Regions from separate parts of the Homo sapiens genome. Here region 1 is linked to region 2. The links are contacts of gene promoters, found by promoter capture Hi-C in blood cells and fetal thymus (Javierre and others, 2016). All regions are on one chromosome and are shown on one strand. Each heading gives the region's core, a stretch centred on a gene start or on the middle of the fragment in contact. The rest is flanking DNA. Distances are from core to core; before and after follow the strand shown. Region 1 overlaps NBDY (negative regulator of P-body association). Region 2 holds the start of KLF8 (KLF transcription factor 8).

Evidence for each region. The method cuts DNA at HindIII sites, captures the fragments that hold promoters and counts their contacts. A CHiCAGO score of 5 or more calls a contact.
Region 1: a fragment that was not itself captured here is called in contact with the fragment with the promoter of KLF8 in region 2 in 4 of 17 cell types (M0 macrophages, M2 macrophages, M1 macrophages and 1 more); the score reaches 7.3 in M0 macrophages.

What each region holds. Positions count from the first base shown.
Region 1 is chrX:56,762,469-56,765,899 of GRCh38, forward strand. The region is part of intron 2 of NBDY (negative regulator of P-body association); the gene reads left to right. Among named protein-coding and RNA genes, the nearest start is that of NBDY, 35 kb to the left of the region's middle. RefSeq lists enhancers at 1,139-1,188, 1,209-1,328, 1,292-1,793, 1,789-2,148. The HindIII fragment of the contact is 2,994 bases long and covers 1-2,988 here.
Region 2 is chrX:56,230,592-56,233,662 of GRCh38, forward strand. KLF8 (KLF transcription factor 8) reads left to right here and starts at 1,765. Exons shown (of 6, transcript NM_007250.5): 1 at 1,765-2,750. The coding sequence starts at 2,744. The HindIII fragment of the contact is 3,283 bases long and covers 1-3,071 here.

The DNA.
Region 1 (3,431 bases), core at 242-2,741, 530 kb after region 2:
ACTTTTGTTCTGAAAGGAGCAGAGATGAAGGTCACATGTTCAGTTCCTCTGGTCCTCTAAAAAACCACCCATGTGTTACTTTTAAGTGAAATGTCATTCTGAATGCACTTCCTACCAGTACCTCACGATTCATCCTTCTACCTTGTTCTCCTTGAAGACGATCTAATAATGTAATCTTGGCCAGTAGGAGCCTCAGCAAGTTTTCCCCCATTTCCTCTCCTTCCAGTCAAGCCATGTGAACACAACTATCCGGATTTCAGTGTATACAGGCAGGCTGTCTCTGCCATGTGCCAGTTTACCCACTCTCACACAGGAAGGCACCCACAAACCATAGACACAGATACACATACACACACTCACTAGGGACCTCAGAAATGAAATCACAAACACACCCGCACACAGAGACACATGCAGACACACACAAACACACACATAGACACACAAACAAGAAACCTCACAGGGGCACAGGGGTGCAGGCCCAAGCATTCTCCCACACAGACACATACACACCACCACAGGCACGAGACTGCCTACAATTTCTCCCACACAGGTTCTAAATGTGCAAAGGGAACAGGAGACAGGGGAGAATTCCTGACTCCAGGCCTGGGCCATCATGCCATTGATTGATGGGCAACTCTCGCCTTCTCCTGAGAATCAATGTGGGAAGTCTGTTAACAGATAGGATCCAGCAGCTGGTGTAAAACTGGAGCATCCTGGGTCAAGCTGCTTAAAAAGGAACCTCACTTTGTGTTAGAGACAGAGAGAGTTCCCTTGGGAGCCTTGGCCCTGTGTGATGCCATAAGAATCTGTGGTGTGTGGTGGCATTCCCCAGCACCCCTGAGCCACCCTCCTCCCACCCCCATCTGTGTGAAACCCAGGACAGCCTGAGCAGAGTCAGACTTGAGCAAGTTGCTGAGTGTCCTCTCTGAGAGATACTCCTGCTTCAGGCCCTGTGGTTTCCAGTTGAGCAGTCCACCTATTTTGATGACCTCCATGTGTCAGCCCAAGGCGGTAAACTCTACCTGGAGCTCCAGGCTTTCGTAGGACCCCCAGTCCTGCAGCAGAACCTTGTGTAAGCCAGCTGGGTGACCAGCACCTTGTCCTGGGGCAGTAGCCCTATGATCCTAGTCCTCCTGTGGTGTCCCAGTAATGATCATGTTTTTTGTTGTTTACTTTCTGCACGGGCAAGAGCCATGAAACCTGCAGAGAGCCAAAGGAAGGGCAAAGGCTGGCTCCCTAAACAGGATTCCCACAGGATCTCCAGCCTACTGGTCCTGGTCCTTGGTCACACGGTCCCATGAGTTTGGTGATCAATCTGGGACCAGGTGACTGATTCCTTTCACTCCTCTGTCTTTTTTTTTGTTTCTCTTTCCTCTTTACCTTTTTTCACATGGGAAAAGGCGGAGGCCCTGGAGTTGAAGTGGCAGGGTTACAGTTGTAGTTGGCGTTTGTGGAGCCATACTGCCATCAAGCGGAAACTGTATCTAGAAACCGGAGGCAGCTGGGCACAAGTGCTGGGGAAACCCCACGAGCGCAAAAGAGATGGCGGCATGGAGCCCCCAGGCTGAAGCAGGACAAGAGAGGAACTCCAAGCTGGCCCTTGGCCTGTGCTCATTCCCAGGATGCCTCCCTGGTTCCACAGCTCTCTCCGAAAAAAAGGGCAGGTAGGGGCGACCCACCATGGGTTCCCCTGGTCATCTCCAGGTACTGCTGGTCCTGGGTTGCCACGTCTCCAGTATCCCGAAGCTCCTTTGTTCCCCGGGAGGATCGGGGCCCCCTTGCCAACACGTGGCTCCAGCCAAGGGAACCCCGGAACTCCCCACAAAAGACACCAGAGTAAACGGCCCCCGTCTCGGCCAGTGGCTTCGTTTATGTCCATCTCAACATGGCTGCCGGGCCAGCTCCGCCCTCTGGGCTGACTGGTCTTGGGGCTGCCTGGCTGTTCTGTCCTGGGGCCTCTAGAGTAGTTGCTTCTCCAAAGCGTCCCAATGCCAGGTACACTTCCTTCAAGGGCTCAGAACCCCGGTGGGGGAAACCCAGGCTTAGACATAGTCTAAGCACATCCTCGCTGATCTCTGTTCCTGGCAGAAGGCAGGTGTCCGTGCATCCTGTTGTGTTCAGAAACAACTTCCACTAGATGGCAATGTGGCTCCACAAACAGCAGTCTTGTCTTTCCCTTCCCCCATTTTCTTTCCCTCTTTCTGTTTTTGGTGCCAAAAACCAAAACAAACACCAAAAAAAAAAAAAAAAAAAAGAAACTGGCCTAGGAGCACCCATCTCACCTACAGCAGGGCTTCCCATCTATGTGGTCACTTTGGGGGAACCGGCAACAGTAGGATGGGGTAGGGGTGGGGGCCACAGGGAGCAGGGCAGCTTCCTGGCCCAACAGGCCTCTGTGCCCACGCGGTGCAGACCCGGGCTTGAGGGGCTGATGCTTTCTCCTGGCTGGTGGCTCTTCCTCTGTGAGGCCACAAGAGGCCACTCATAGTGCTGCCAGCTGTCCATCTGAGGCACTTTGCATTGCAGTTCGCTGTCAATCTCATTGCTCACTGATTCTTTGTGTACTTTTGGAGTTTTTCTCCCTTCACTTTTTTCTTCTTCATTCTCTTTACTTTTTCTCCACTTCTGCTCCAGGAGCAGACTGGAAGGCAGGGTCAGCTGGGCGCGGGGACACCGTTAGGGAAAACAGGCTTACTTTTCCTAAGGAAATTAGTAGGACTCTAGCTGACCCCTGCGAGGAGAAATTGGCGTTTCCCTCTCCTTTCTGCCCTGTCTCCATATTGCAGTGGGTGGCTGATTATCTCTTTTCCCTGGTGTCCAATTCCTCCCCGTTTTTCATCTTATTCTTTTTTGGGCGGTCCTTCCCTGCCTTGGCCTTGTAGCCTTGGGGCTTGGTAGCCCCTTGCAGTCAGCTGATGACATCTTCAGGGCAAGGTTCAGCCAGCACCTGTGTTCTCTGTAGCTTCTGCAGGCCTACTTGTGGATCAAAGCTTTTGATCTTACTCAGGAAATACCCCATCAACAAGACGCTTCCTGGTTGTGTGTCCTTTAAGCCGGATGTCAGAAGTGGCTCCGTGCCCCTCGTTGTATGTCACCACGCGTTGAGGCCCTCCTAAACTAGATCCTTCGGGACAGCTACAGTGGCATGGACCTCTCACTTCCTGTTCTCCTTCTGATTCTTCTTCCTCTTCCTCCTCCTACCCCTCTTCTTTAATTCTTCTCCTTCTCCTCCTTCTCCTCTTGCTCCTCCTCCTCCAACTCCTTCTTATCTTCCTACTCCTCCTTTTTCTTTTTCTTCTTTTTCCTCCTTCTACTCCTCCTCCCCCTCCCCCTGCACTTCCTTCTCCTTTGCCTCTTTTTCTTTTTTTGCTTTTGCTTCTGCTTCTGATTCTGCTTCTGTTTTTCCTTTCACTTGCGGATCTGGGTGGGCA
Region 2 (3,071 bases), core at 515-3,014:
TGTATTTATTTAACCTGTCACTAAGTTTCCACATCTGTAAAATGGGGATAGCAATGTCTACCCATAGGATTGTCAGAAGGATTCAATGAGTTAATATACATAAGAGGCTTACAACAGAGTTTAGTACATAGTTAATGCTCAATAACTATTATTATTGTTAATAATAATATAACTTGGCATCCAAGTTACAGAAATGAGATCGCCTGGTGCTTCAGCTCAAGGACTTTATAGTTTAGTAGGGGGAGGCAATTATACCAACAAATATGTGCCCCGAGGTAGAGAAGGGCACAGAGGAAGCAATGGTCAGTTTTGCCTGAAGAAATTAAGTAAGGAGGGGAGATGACCTTGAGTTAGTCCTTTCAAGAAAGTGGACAGATTCATTGGAAGGACATGCAAGAAAAAAAAAGGTGGACAGAGAGCTTAGTCTATTTCAGTCAGAGAAAGTAAAGCAACCCAAGGCATAGAGATTGGAAACAGCTTGGAATTCCCAGGGATTTGTAATCCAGGTAAAGCCCAGGAGAACAGCAAAATCTCTGCTGCTTGAGAGGCAGACAAAGGCCAGATCACAGCAGGTTAAAGGATGAGTTCCAGGGTGCTGCCTTGGATGTATGGTGGTGCCATTCAGGTAGTTGGTGAACTACAGGAGGAAGAACAGAGTGTTTTGGGGAAAGGAAGGTAGATGAGATGCACAGAAGACATTCAGGCAGAAATATCAACTAAGTAAGTAGACCTATGTGTTCGAAAGTACTGGGCTGAGGCCTTCCGTTTCCTTATTTTTTTAAATAAAGGGCACAGAGAATATAACAGTACCTAGTTCCCAGGGTTGTTATTGGGACTAAATGGGGAAATGTTGAATGTAAAAGCACCTGGCTCAGGGACTTGCCCATATTAGGTGCTGAATACATGGCAGATATTATTATTTCTCCTGTCTCTTTGCTCTTCCTCCCTCTGCTTTGTTTCTTGTCTCTCTTCTTTTTCCTCCTCTTTAAAAGAATTGTGGTAGGGAAGAGGCACTGAAAATGGGCTGTGGTTGCTTGTGACTTCCTGGCCTCCCATTAAAATGAGCTAGAGAGAGACTTTCAGGCAAGCGTAAAGAAATCCTGGAAACATGGCTCCTATCCTGTGGATTCAGCTTTACGGGGATCTTCGCCAATGCCTGGCTGAGAGGCGGTCTCAGGGGGTTGAGAACTCTATTCTTAGAGGTCTGGTATCTGGGAGACTGAGAAAGCCTTTCTTAAGTCTCCCTGCTGGGCCACGCTGTATTCACAGATCATCTTCAACTCCTTCTTCTTCCCCACCTACTCCTTCGCCCTCACCTCCTTGGCTTATCTCTTGCTAGAAAATGCACCAAGCTCCAATCTCCGTTCCTTTTAGCTTCCTCCCTGAGAAGACACTGTGACCTCGCTGTCCTTGTTCGTGTTACCATGGAGAGGTAGGAGGATAAATATCGCTTCCAGTTGTCAGCTTTTTTGTTTTCTCCTTTCCCTCTTAGACAGCCCCCAGCCCCAATCCCAGTACCCGTTTCACCACCCTCCCCTGGAGAATTAGCATAACCGGAGTAAATAGGTAATCAAGCAGTGTGCTTGCAAGCCTTAATTTTGGGACAGATAAGGAAGTGAAATTGATTGGAATTATACCTGCCGCTGCTGGAGGCTGAGGGAGGCGGCCGCCGGAGGCGAGGCCAGCTCTGTCGGCCCAGGGCCCCGCCCCACCCCCTCCTTCCTCCCTCCTCCTTCTCAGCCCCACCCTTCTCCACCTCCTCCCACTTTGCACTCTCCTCTAGCGGCCGCCTGTCCTTTTTAAGGAACTCCACCCTAGGTGGAGTCCTCACGATAGTCACACCTCTCCTTTGGGCCTAGCAGGGCCAGAGAAAGACGGAATCACTCTACCCACTCAGGTTGCCCAGAGAGCACTTTAGGTTCTGACTCGCGTGGGGCGCGAGGTACCCCGTGGGGCAGCTAGGTGCCTCCAAGAAACCCCGCCCCAGAGGACCCGCACGAGTTGCTGCCATTTTTCGCTGAAGCCCCTGCCCTGGGGCTGGTGTTCTTCTCTATGATTCTACCAATCGTCGGCATTTTTTTCCTCCCTTCTTTCTTTTTAGGAAGGCGCTGGGGTGTGCGGCGGCAACGGCGGCGGTGAAGGGATCCTCTTGTGGTATCTCCTCGTGGGTTCCTGTCTTGAAGGATTTCTTCTCCGCCTCAACTTTATGTTCAAGTAGCGCTTTGGGGGTTGGGTTGGTTTTCATAGCCCCCACCCCCGGCCCTCTCCTTTTAAAGGGTGTGTGGAGTTCAGAGGATGGGTGGAGAGCGGGCTTGGCCGGAACTGAATTGGTAGAGGTAAAAGGGGAACGGAGGACCTTAAGCTCTGGCCACTTCGGCCCAGCGAACCCACTTTATTTTTGTCCAAGGAAAAGCTGCAGGGGGGAGGATTCTTTTTAGGAAGTCTACTCTGCCGGCCCCTGATTTTTGGGTTGGATGCTTGAGAGCTTTGTTTCCCTTGTTCCGAGAGTGGCCCAGCTGGGTCTGAATCGACTCCCTCCCCTTTCGACCCCCTCCTCATTTTCCAGCCCGGAGAAATAGGGGAGTGGGGGCCCAAGAACGAGAAGACGAGAACGCGTCGCCCTGCGCTATGTCAGAATGGGGCGGGTGTGAGGGGAACAGCTCTCTTGCGATCAGCTCAGGAGTATGAGCCTCCCGGAGGACGGCATGAGTTCTGGACACTTCAGGAGTCCTCAGCTAGTGACATGGTCGGTAAGTGACTCTGGGACTAATACCCACCCACTCCCACCTCTTTCGTCTAGATTCTATCCCCCTCCCAGTCCCCCTGCTCCCCCCACACACCCCACTTGGGGTTTCAGCAGTGGGGGCGGGAGCGGAAGGTTAAGAACACTATGTGGAATCAAATGAAACTCAAGGGAAAATGACTTTGCTAAAGGGCTGGGCAAAGAAAGGCCAAGAAGGAGAGGAGAGAGCTTGGTGGAAGAAGTGAAAGGGGGCAAGAATGGATGGATTTGTCTAGTCTAGTCTCCCCTGGCTCGGCACTCCCAATACTCCTTAAGCGGTAAGGATTGT